Regions from separate parts of the Homo sapiens genome. Here region 1 is linked to region 2. The links are contacts of gene promoters, found by promoter capture Hi-C in blood cells and fetal thymus (Javierre and others, 2016). All regions are on one chromosome and are shown on one strand. Each heading gives the region's core, a stretch centred on a gene start or on the middle of the fragment in contact. The rest is flanking DNA. Distances are from core to core; before and after follow the strand shown.

Evidence for each region. Contacts are between HindIII fragments. The CHiCAGO score rates a contact against its expected background, and 5 or more counts as called.
Region 1: a contact is called between a fragment that was not itself captured here and the fragment with the promoter of ITPR2-AS2 in region 2, in 1 of 17 cell types (M2 macrophages). The highest score is 5.5, in M2 macrophages.

Annotation. Positions count from the first base shown.
Region 1 is chr12:26,275,125-26,281,494 of GRCh38, reverse strand. All of the region lies in intron 1 of LOC105369705 (a long non-coding RNA gene), which reads right to left. LOC105369704 (a long non-coding RNA gene) reads left to right here and starts at 5,440. Exons shown (of 2, transcript NR_188068.1): 1 at 5,440-5,636. RefSeq lists enhancers at 6,258-6,307, 6,328-6,370. The HindIII fragment of the contact is 470 bases long and covers 3,461-3,930 here.
Region 2 is chr12:26,314,538-26,320,460 of GRCh38, reverse strand. ITPR2-AS2 (ITPR2 antisense RNA 2) reads right to left here and starts at 1,537. Exons shown (of 6, transcript NR_199072.1): 1 at 1,457-1,537. RefSeq lists an enhancer at 1,795-1,844. The HindIII fragment of the contact is 7,262 bases long and covers 1-1,992 here.

The DNA.
Region 1 (6,370 bases), core at 2,446-4,945, 41 kb after region 2:
CTCCAGCCCTGCCTCAGCTTGAGCCAACCATGTCAAAGGCAAGCAACTTAGCCGTGTACTATAGAGCAGGAAATTAACTCAAGGTCAGCAGTCCCAAGAGTGGAGATGTGAACGATGCACTGTGAATGCTCAAATGTATCTCAGCCTCAGTACCCTCACCATCCCAAAATACTGACCAACTTCAGGAAATGAATATGAATTGTCTTACCTAGCACTCTTGTAATTCACTAATATGGGAAGGCAGCCCTGAGCCTCAAGTTCCTTAACCAACTCTTGCTAACTCCCAACCTTTGGGGTCACAGGGCACTGGACGGATCCTGTGCTTCAGCTGGTCAGTACCTGGCTGGATCCAAGCCTTGAACGAACAGACCAACAGAAGCTATGCTTCTCTACACTTCCCTGCACACCACTCATGTCTGGAATTCCCATCTTGACCACAGCCTGGGGGGTGGCCTCTCCCCAGCACCTATGAAAACCACACCTGATGTTCGAACACACATCAGATGCCCATTGGAACCTGTCCTCAGATCTTCTGGCTAACCTGGCTGAAGTAGCCTCTGCAACTGGGGTTTTCATCTCACCTAAGTCTGTATCTCAGATTTTTTCTTCTTCCCACCAGTATAAGTTTTGGCAAGTGCAGCAAGGGTGCCAACTCCCATTATGACATACATGGTCAGGGTGGAGTTAGGTGCGGGACCATGTATTAGAAACTGTAGAAGTAGTAAGGGATCTTTTTTTTCGGTATAAATGCATGGGGTACAAGTGTAATTTTGTTACATGAATATATTGAGTAATGGGAAAGTCAGGGCTTTTAGTATATCCATCACCTGAATAACATACATTGTATCCATTAAGGAATATCTCATCGTTCACCTCCCTCCCTTATCCTTCCAAGTCTCCAGTGTCTATCCTTCTACACCCTACATCCCTGTGTACACATTATTTAGCTCCCACTCATAAATGAGAACATGTAGTATTTGTCACCCTGTTTATGAGCTGTTTCACTTAAAATAATGACCTCCAGTTCCATCCATGTTTTTGCAAAAGACATGATTTTATTCTCTTTATGGTTTAATAGTATGCCATTGTGTATATATGCCATATTTTCTTTATCTGGTCATCCATTGATGGACATTTAGGTTGATTTCATGACTTTGCTATTGAGAATAGTGCTATGATAAACACACGAGTGCAGCCATCTTTCTGGTATAATTATTTCTTTTTCAAGACAAGAAGTAGATACCCAGTAGTGGGATTTCTGGATCAAATGTAGTTCTACGCTTAGTTCTTTGGGTAATCTGTAGCAGTAGTCTAGGGATTGGCAGGGCGAGTTACACACACTCCCTTCCTAGGGCCTGTACCTCAGCTTCCTGGAGAAATGGCCTTGATTACTCTGATAACTACAACCAGCGCAGTACCTCCCTTAGATCTGGCAGCCAGGGCCCTGCCCCGTGTCTCATGCTTTGGAGGTTTCTGCCCTGACCTGGCCTGCTCTGATCCTAGCCAGATGAGTGAGGAGCCCACAGGTTTGAGGGGCACGCTTGCCCAGTCTACACACTCTCTCTTCTAGACCACTCTTTGGAGTCCTGGGGCCCTGTAATTTCCACCCAAAAAGCTCAAGGCCAAATTCTAGGACTTGCCTGATGCCTTTTCCCATGTTCGTCCTGGGGTAATAGCCAATGAGTGCTTTGTGAGAGGCAGGTGGTAGGGGTTGGGGGCTGTGTACCAGTGGGCTGAAGTGTCCAACATCTGTGCATGAGGCCCCCATGATGTGGGTTACAGCCTCTGTGTGTACTCCTGCCCAGATGCCCATGCAGGTCACAGGGTGAGAAACCCCACATATTTCTTTTCTGGAATGCTTTTCTCTTCCCATCAGCTAGGTCAGCTCATCAGTTCTCATGGTTTCAAATACCAGCTTCATACTTATTGGAACCCTTCCTTTACTCCCTGATATCAAACCCATCAGCAAATTCTCCTGATTCAAGCTCAAATGTCTTTTCTCTCCCTCTCTGCTGCTATCCCTTTGACTCAAGCCACCATTGTCTCTTGCCTGGACAACTGAGATAACCTATTCAGTGGTTGCTCTGCTTCCACTATTGGCCTCCTACAATCCATCCTCCTCATAGTGGCAAAGTGCTTTTCTGTTCATGTGAGCTGGATCATGCCCTTCCCCTGCATGAAAGGGAGAAATGACTTCTCACAGCCTTGTGAGCATGGCCCTTGCCTGCCTCCCCCTCCTCCTGTCATGCACTCTTCCTTCTTCTGCATACCTCTTCAGGCTGGCCCTTCAGTTCCTGCAGCACAGAGGCCTTTCCACACCTTGCACAGTCACCAGCATCTCACATGGGTTCTTTGCTGAAACACTGACTCCAAGAGCCTTCCCTGAGCCATCTAGCTAAAGATCACTCATTCCCTGCATTCATTCTCCTCAGCCCCTTGTGTGTCCCCAGCATAGCACTTAACGTATTTGAAATTATTACATTGTTTTGTTTTTTGTTTTTTTTTTGAGACAGAACCTCACTCTGTCACCCAGGCTAGAGTGCAGTGGCATAATCACGGCTTCAAATTCTTGGCTTCAGGCAATCCTCCCACCTCAGCCTTCCGAGTAGCTGGGATCACAGGTGCATGGCACCACGCCCAGCTAATTTTTCATTTTTTGTAGAGACAATGTTCCACTCTGTTGCCCAGGCTGGTCTCAAACTCCTGAGCTCAAGCGATCCTCTCACTTCAGCCTCTCAAAATGCTGGGATTACAGGCATGAGCCATTGTGCCCAGCCAAAATTAGTATTTCAAATCATGTGTTTTAAATTGCCTATGCTATTAGGATATAAGCTCTTTAAAGGCAAGGGCTCTGACTGTCTTGTTCATAGTTCTCTCCCCTGTGCCCAAAGCAGTGCAAGGCATGTAGCTGGCACTGGATAAACATTTATTATGTGTGCAATGAATACCAGGGAAGGATTTTTGGGTGTGGCAGACAGATAAGTGAGAATGCCATCTTCTATGTCCCTCGGGGACTCAGGCCCACTCATTTTTCCACACACCAGAGTCAACCACTGATGTTTCAATTTCCCTTTTCTCCTGATCACTCATGTTGGTTTCTAGATCCTCTGAATGTGCCCTCAGAGGGTCCTTGCTAATCTGTGTCTAAAGAAAGAATGTAAGACCCTGGCTAAAGCTTACCCTAAGAAATTCCACTAGGCCTTAGCTATTGAAGGAAACAGATTCCCACCCAAGAGTGACAGGTTACAGCTCTGCTCACAGGGAGACCCGTCCTCAGAGAGCCCCGTGGGGTTGCTGAGGCACAAAATTTACAGAAAGCCTTTCTGTTTGGGGTGGTGGGTTTTCACTGCTTTGTTTTCTTGTGTGCTCAGTGGCTTGTTCCTAACTCGCGGCCAATCACCACACTGCCAGATGGTGCGAAAGATTTACCGGAATTTCGTTTTCAAATAAACCACAAGCTTGGATGAGCTAATGTTGTTCCACATAAAAAAGCCACAAAACTGGACAAATTAACGTTGTTTCAAGAAAGGAAACTTGTCCGGGCCATCAGGTCTGCCCTCTCAGGGGGCACCAATATCTGCACCAAGACACTGGGGACGCCCCTGCCTCCCTTACCGCTGACTCCACAAAATAACTTAGGGGGAATTATATTTTCCTGTGGAACCAAATCATTTCTGTCAAGTTCATCTCAGTTGCACCAAGAGTCTGAGGATGGCAATGCCTCTTCCGGCCTGTCAGCAATGGTTGCAGTCTCTCCCAACACTGCCTGTGAGCGCTCCCGGGACAGGGCCACTAGCCCAGCAGGTCAGCTTGGGCTGCTTAGCAGGGACATTTAGCATGATTTATAAACCACAATGGCATGGGTGAGAGTGGCTTCCGGGAAGGCCCCACCCTCAGCAGCAGTGGCCATAAAGCCTAATGGAAAAAGCTTCCATGATTGGGATCCTGGATTCTCACCCCTGCTGTACCACTTAGCGGCAGAACCATGAACAGATTGAAAGACTCTAAAGAACATGATTTTCTCATTCTTAGGATGGAAACAGCCTGGGTGCGGTGGCTCACACCTGTAATCCCAGCACTTTGGGAGGCCGATGCAGGAGGATAACTTAAGGCCAGGAGTTTGAGACAAGCCTGGGCAACATAGCAAGAACCCCCCACTGCCCTTCTCAACAACAAAAAAGAGCCAGATGTGGTGGCACATGCCTATTGTCCTAGCTCAGGAGAATGAGGCAGGTGGATTGCTTGAGCCAAGGAGTTCAAGGCTACAGTGAGCTATGATCATGCCAGTGCACTCCAGCCTGGGTGACAGAATGAGACCCTGTCTCTAAATAGATAAATAAATAAATAAAAATAAAAAAGATAGAGATAATAATATTAAGCCAACAAGGTTGTTGTAAGGATAAAACTGAGTTAATATGTAAAGTCCTTTAGTGCTGTGCTCAACACACAAGAAGTGCTCCTCCCTACATGTGGACACTACATGGGATGATATGATGATGATGATGATGATGATGACGATGACGATGTCAGCCATGTGGCTGCCCCTCATCTTATAGCACTTATCTTGTCCATCTGGTGCTAAAGAGCCAGTCTCAGAGGAGGTATGTCATCTGCTTCCTATGGTCAGCTGAGTTGAACAAAATACCATGAAGTGATTCAAGCCAGGAAGTCAATCAATATAACTCAAGCTGAAAGAGCCCTTCTTTAAAGAATCTAAAGAATTGCCTCATCTTTCCTCCTTCCTTTTCTCAACCAAACAACAAAATGTTTTGCCTTAAGAATTAGATGCCTTAAGGATTTTGTTTTAAATTAGAATTTTATGAATGTCCTTCCTCTCTGAAATTTTATATTATAAATATGTGTAGAAATACTCTAAAGGGATGTCTGTGATCTGGGTGTTGGGATTTCATCTTGCTACATGGGATAATGAAATACGGAACTTATTTGAGCAGAGATTCAGGTCTATTGAGAATTATAACCAAAGTACCGCTTATTGAGCACTTTCTAAGCTAAACGACTTTATATACTTTATCGAATCCTTACTATAAATTTATATTTTCTCCATTTTGCAAATGAAAATTCTAAAGAAAAATTTTACTAGTTGTAAAAAGGCCATATCTGCTTGGCCATAAGACCTGTTTATGCTATTCTGTCTCACTAACAAATTTTTAGATAGAAGTCACTAGAGATGAACATTAGGCTAACCTTAAAAGATAATGATGGAGAAAAAGAAAAACACTCAAAATGCTTTACAAGTTTTACTTTAGTCTTCACAACCACCCTACGAGGTAGCAGCTTTTGTTGCCTTCATTTTACAGATGAGGGATCCAAGCAGAGAAATCAGTTGTGTGCCAGACTCACATAGCTGGTGGCCCGTAGCAGAGCTGGGATTCAAACCCAGGCAGTTTGACCTTGAGCTTTGTGTTATGCTGTCATAGGCAGGGGTCAGTCTCCTGAAGCCTTGCACAGGGAAGGAAATGTTCCCTTCCTTGTGCATTAGGCAAGCTGCCCTGAACTTCCTGCAGCACCCACCATAGAATAACCCACCAACTCCATAGGAAACCTCGCTTATGCACCCAGATCTGGTCTGTGATTTGCTACAGAAAGACAAGAAATGGCCTGTGGCTTCTTGCTAGGTATGTTGAAAAGCATGGTGGGGTGGGAGTGCAAGCCATGATTAATTGTTTGCTGATGTGGAAAGTCTATAAAGTTTGAACCACATTTCTCAGAAACATGAAGAGGAACAAATAATTTCTGGTCCATTAAGCCTTTTCTTACAGGGCTTCATATTGTTTTCTCAGGGGTTTTGTTTGTTTGTTTGACCTCAGAATGTGAGCAATAATGTGTCTTTTTTTTCCCTTTCTGGCTAAAACCAAACCTTTTGACTTCTCAGTTGATATAAACGTGCCCTTTCTCCCGCCCCTCAGACTTGTTCTTTCTTTTTTTTTTTTTTTAAGATGGAGTCTCACCCTGTCACCCAGGCTGGAGTGCAATGGCGCAATCTTGACTCACTGCAACCTCCGCCTCCTGGGTTCAAGTGATTCTCCTGCCTCAGCCTACGGAGTAGCTGGGATTATAGGCGCTCGCCACCATGCCTGGCTAATTTTTTTGTATCTTTAGTAGAGATGGTGTTTCACCATGTTGGCCAGTCTGGTCTCAAACTCCTGACCTCGTGATCCGCCCGCCTCAGCCTCCCAAAATGCTGGGATTACAGCAGGGCCACCGTGTACGGCTGACTTGTTTCATTTCTTAGAGCTAAAATGAGGTTTGGAGAAAGCTCTGTTCATTTTGAAGCCTCAGTCTTCACCCCAACACTCCTGGATCCTGGCTGGAGGAGCTGTGATTACCCGAGATAGGAAAACCCTGGCAG
Region 2 (5,923 bases), core at 288-2,787:
CTGGGACTTATCTGTTACAATGTTAGATTGTACTTCAGACTGCCTGCCAGGCCCTTGGGCCATCTTCAATAAGTCAGCTCAGGGAAGGCTGGTGTCCACTATTGACCTAAGCAAGCCAATGACAGCCTACACCTGAAGCAGAGAGCAGAAATGTTGAGATTATCGACTGCCCCTTGGCTTTGGTAAGAGGAATAAAAAATGGCTATGTTGTTTTAGAAAATATCACCTTGAAAGCTCCATGATGATGTACCAATTTGCTCTGATTGTCTCATAAAGCACCATTTTCCTTCCCCATATATTATGGAGCAGATGGCTCTCTTCTCAAAGGAAGCTGTGCCATTTTAAAACTTTTCTTCCCATGCAGGATGAGCCACTGGCTAAAATGGTGAGATCACCACCCATCCAGCCATGCTATTATAACCCAGGACACTCATGTAGGATTGAGGCCTGGAAAGTTAACTGCATGATTCCCAGGTGTTAGGGCTACTTACCAAGAATGCCTGCTTAACTTTGAAAGGAAGGTTTCCCTGGGAACATACATCCTGGTGAACAGGATCAGGTGTTGCTTAATAGATATTATGTAGATACAGAGTAAATGTCAGGCTTACATAGAGGAGTTGGCTGCTGAGGCAAATTTGTTCTTCAGCCTTGGCCAGCAACCCAGAATTTAAGGGAGGAGTCAAGGCCGGAAGCCACGTGCATTGAGGATCTAGGAAACCACCCACAGAGTCATCCTTCTTCCAGACTCAGCCTCCTCAGACAAAAAATCCCACTCTGTTCCCAGGCCGGAGAGCCTCCTGGGCTGGAATTGCTCAAGCCTCAGCTCACAGATGAGTCACTGTATTCATTTGCTCCACAGGTAGGCGTGTAGTTTGGCCCCATATGCAACAGACAGGCCAAGTTAACAGCAACTCGGGGAATTTCAAAATTGATTTTTATGGCAAAAAGAACACATGACCATTGTGATAGAAAATATTGGAACATACAGGCAAGCACCATAAATTTTAAAAAGAGCTGATAATCCCCAAACGCAGAGATTAAACATCATTAATAATTTCTTGTCTCACCTTCCAGGCTTTTGTCTATCCACCTGGGAGTACATATAGTGTAAAACAAATTGGATTATTCTAACAATGTTGTTTTACGGTCCTTCTCTATATACTATCCTACGGTGGACATTTTCCCAGGTCATTGATTATTCTGTTCTAGTGATTTTTTAATGGCCATACAACCTTCCAAAATAAAAATGTACCATAGTTTGTTGTACAATGCTTTACAGTTGAACATTTAGATAATTTTCAGTTTTTCGTTACTAAAGTTAACACTATGATGAGCATGATTGAACATACATATTTGTGTACGCCTCTGATTCCTGACTAAGAATAAATTCATTCAAATGAAATCATGCAACCAAAACATATGAGTATTTTCAAGGCTTAAAAAAGGTTTTACTTACTTATACTCCTACACTTGCGGCATGAAACAGGCCCTTTCCCAAAGGTGGCTTTTAGGTAAGGCTGCTTTGGTGGCCCAGACTAGGGTCCCCCTGCCTCTGATAGAGCTAAACTGTGCCGCAGGAAGCTGCCCCAGGGCAGCTGTGTGCAGAAGGCTGTTTTTGCCCCTTGGGGCCTTCCGGCTGCATTTTCTCATCTCTACAGCCGGGCCAGCTGAAGCATGTGGAGGTCAGGTGATGTGTGTGGGGTCATGCAGCCAGTGGTGACTCAGCCAAACCCACTCCAGCTCCTGAACCTTGCTCAGATCACAAGGCTGAGAGCACTCGCTTTCCCTGCAGCCCACAGTTTCCAAATAATTAAAAGAGGCTCCTTGTGCTTGAGTTTGTAGATATTAAGTTTTTGGAATGAGTGGTTCAGCCCCATGACCTTGTTAATTGGTGACACTAAATGCTGTATAATCCTGCCTTCCTTTTTCTTTCTGGAAACAATCAGAATAATTTGTTGAGCTTCCCTGCACTGTATAATTTGCAATGAAGCTTTGTGATGAGTCTATTCAGGTGCCCATCTGAGACTCAGATTCAAAGACATAACTGCTGAGCTGAATCAAAACAACAACTCTGGTACATCTGATTCATTATGACTCATGCATCAAACTCAAGCTGCCTATTAAGGTACTAGAACACTCTCACCAACATAAGAAAACCCCTGATGACAAAGATTGGCCAACTCTTGGGGATTATTGTCTCCTTCATCCATAATTCAGTAAGCCAAATTAAATTCAGGTGACCAATAGTTAAGTCAACCTAACAAGACTGTCTCTTCTCAGGTGGCTGGGCCAGCATGGGGGATGACTGCAGCTATTCCACAGGGAGTCTTTGCTTCCAGTGGTTTACTATCCCTGTATTACTCTCTGGAATGGAGCCTGTGAGCTCAAGGTCCTCTGTGGACATCATACTTTGTTCTGATTCTTAGCCATACACAGTGGGAGTTGAATCCCAGATGTCCTCTTATGGCCCAGCACCATTTGCACAGGGTTAAGAGAAAATGGAAGAGCATCAACCCATCCCCTCAGCTGGGAAATGACTCCTGACTCTTTTGCCAGGAGAATATATCAGTTACATCCTCTTTTGGGCATTCAGAGATGAGCCTAATATGTAAAAATTAAAGTAAACAGGCTGAAGAGACACCTACTTGTAGTATAGCTGCTGTATTATTTATCTGCATATATAAATGCACAGGCACGTAACCTAGCTGATTCTAAACTGCGTAGGTGAGTGTTTGCAGAACTAGGGGCTAGGAAGTTTTCTCAGTACCTATTTGCATGAGGCTGTGTTTCAGGAAGGCTTTTGGTTGTTAGCTGAAGGATGATGATGGAATTTAATGAGGAGTCCTTGGGACAGAGACTGAAATGGCGGGATGGCCTGGTATTTGGTTCCTATCAGGATATTGAGGGTGATTTGAGCTAGGAGGAATAAGGGATGACAGCCATGTCCTGGGCTTCGGCACTGCTCTGACACTCTGAAGGTCAGCAGAGTTGAAAGCCTTGCAGGTGAGCTGTTGGCATGGATGCCGGCGATGCTCGTGATAGGTTCTGCCAGTCATGGCAGGACTGAGGCTCCTTCAGAAGGTGTTGTGAGTAGAGGATGCTGAGGAGGGAGAGGGGGAGAAAGAGAAAGAATAAGGCAAATTCCACATGTGATTATATCTAATAGTCTGACTTATGAGTTCCTGTGGGAGAACTTAGAGGAAGTCCAGAAATACTTGGGGAGGCCTTACAGGGGTCTGCAGGGCAGGTTAGGCTAGAGCAGGAAACTCAGTTGTAAATGCTAATGCATCCATCACACCAAAGGCCCCTGTTTTTATACATCAGTCTTTTATTTCTTGGCATTTAGGTAATGGCTGGATTATTTGTTGTTGTTTTTGAGACAGGGTCTCACTCTGTTGCCCAGGATGGAGTACAGTGGCATGATCTCAGCTCACTGAAATCTTGACCTCCCAGGCTCAAGCAATTCTCGCACCTCAGCCTCCCAAGTAGCTAGGACTATAGGTGCACTACTGCCCCCAGCAAATTTTTGTATTTTCAGTAGAGATGGAGTTTCACTATGTTGCCCAGTCTGGTCTCAAACTCCTGACCTCAAGCAATCCACCGGCCTCAGCCTCCCAGAGTGTTGGGATTACAGGCAGGAGCCACCACCCAGCCAATTTCTGTTTTTTCATTATTAAAAATAACAGTGAGGAGGAGGGGGCAACATGGCCAAATAGGAACAGCTCTGGTCTGCAGCTCCCAGGTAGACCAACGCAGAGGGTGGGTGATTTCTGCATTTACAACTGAGGTACCCAGTTCATCTTGCTGGGACTGGTTAGACAGTGGGTGCAGCCCACAGAGGGCAAGCCAAAGCAGGGTGGGGCGTCGCCTCACCTGGGAAGCACAGAGGGTCAGGGAACTCCCTCCCCTAGCTAAGGGAAGCCATGAGGGACTGTGCCGTGAGGAAGTGTGCACTCTGGCCCGGATACTTCGCTTTTCCCATGGTCTTCCCAACCTGCAGACCACGAGATTCCCTCCAGTGCCTTTGCCACCAGGGCCCTAGGTTTCAAGCACAAAACTGGGTGGCCATTTGGGCAGACATCAAGCTAGCTGCAGGAGGTTTTTTTTTGTACCCCAGTGGTACTTGGAAGCCCAGTGAGACAACCATTCACTCCCCTGGAAAGAGGGCTGAAGCCAGGGAGCCAAGTGGTCTTGCTCAGTAGGTCCCACCACCACGGAGCCCAGCAAGCTAAGATCCACCAGCTTGAAATTGTTGCTGCCAGCACAGCAGTCTGAAGTCAGCTTGAGACGCTCGAGCTTGGTTGGGGGAGGGATGTCCACCATTACTGAGGCTTGAGTAGCTGGTTTTCCCCTACTCAAACAAAGCCGCCAGGAAGTTTGGACTGGGCGGAGCCCACCACAGCGTGGCAAAGCTGCTGTATCCAGACTGCCTCTCTAGATTCCTCCTCTCTTGGCGGGGCATCTCTAAAAGAAAGGCAGCAGCCCCAGTCAGGGGATTATAGGTAAAAATCCCATCTTCCTGGGACAGAGCACCTGGGGGAAGGGGCAGCTGCAGGCACAGCTTCAGCAGACTTAAACATTCCTGCCTGCCAGCTCTGAAGAGAGCAGCAGATCTCCCAGCACAGCCCTTGAGCTCTGGTAAGGGACAGACTGCCTCCTCAAATGGGTCCCTGACCCCCATGCCTCCTGACTAAGAGACAGCTCCCAGCAGGGTCGACAGACACCTCATACAGGAGAGCACCAGCTTGCATCTGGAGGGTGCCCCTCTGGGATGAAGCTTCCAGAGGAAGGAACAGGCAGCAATCCTTGCTGTTCTGCAGGCTCCACTGGTGATACCCAGGCAAACAGGGTCTGGAGTGGACCTCCAGCAAACTCCAGCAGACCTGCAGAAGAGGGGCCTGACTGTTAGAAGGAAAAATAACAAACAGAAAGCAATAGCATTAACATCAACAAAAAGGATGCCCACACAAAAACCCCATCCAAAGGTCATCAGCATCAAAGATCAAAGGTAGATAAATCCATGAAGATGAGGAAAAACCAGTGCAAAAATGTTAAAAATTTCAAACACCAGAATGCCTCTTCTCCTTCAAAGTATCACAGCTCCTTGCCAGCAAGGGAACAAAACTGGATGGAGAATGACTTTGACAAATTGACGGGAGTAGGCTTCAGAAGGTGGGTAATAACAAACTCCTCCAAGCTAAAGGAACAAGGTTCTAAGGAAGCTAAGAACCTTGATAAAAGGTTACAGAAAGTGCTAACTAGAATAACCCATTTACAGAAGAACATAAATGACCCGACAGAGCTGAAAAACACAGCATGAGAACTTCGTGAAGCACACACAAGTATCAATAGCTGAATCAATCAAGTGGAAGAAAGGATATCAGAGATTGAAGATCAACTTAATGAAATCAAGTGTGAAGACAAGATTAGAGAAAAAAGAATGAAAAGGAATGAACAAAGCCTCCAAGAAATATAGGACTATGTGAAAAGACCAAACCTACGATTTATTGGTGTACCTGAAAGTGATGGGGAGAATGGAACCAAGTTGGAAAACACACTTCAGGATGTTATCTAGGAGACCTTCTCCAACCTAGCAAGGCAGGCCAAAATCCAAATTCAGGAAATACAGAGAACACCACTAAGATACTCCTCAAGAAGAACAACCCCAAGACACATAATCATCAGATTCACCAAGGTGGAAATGAAGGAAAAAATGTTAAAGGCAGCCAAAGAGAAAGGTCAGATTACCTAGAAAGGGAAGCCCATCAGACTAACAGTGGATCTCTCTGCAGAAACCTTACAAGCCAGAAGAGAGTGGGGGCCAATATTCAACATTCTGAAAGAAAAGAATTTTCAGCCCAGAATTTCATATCCAGCCAAACTAAGCTTCATTAGCAAAGGAGAAATAAAATCCTTTCCAGAC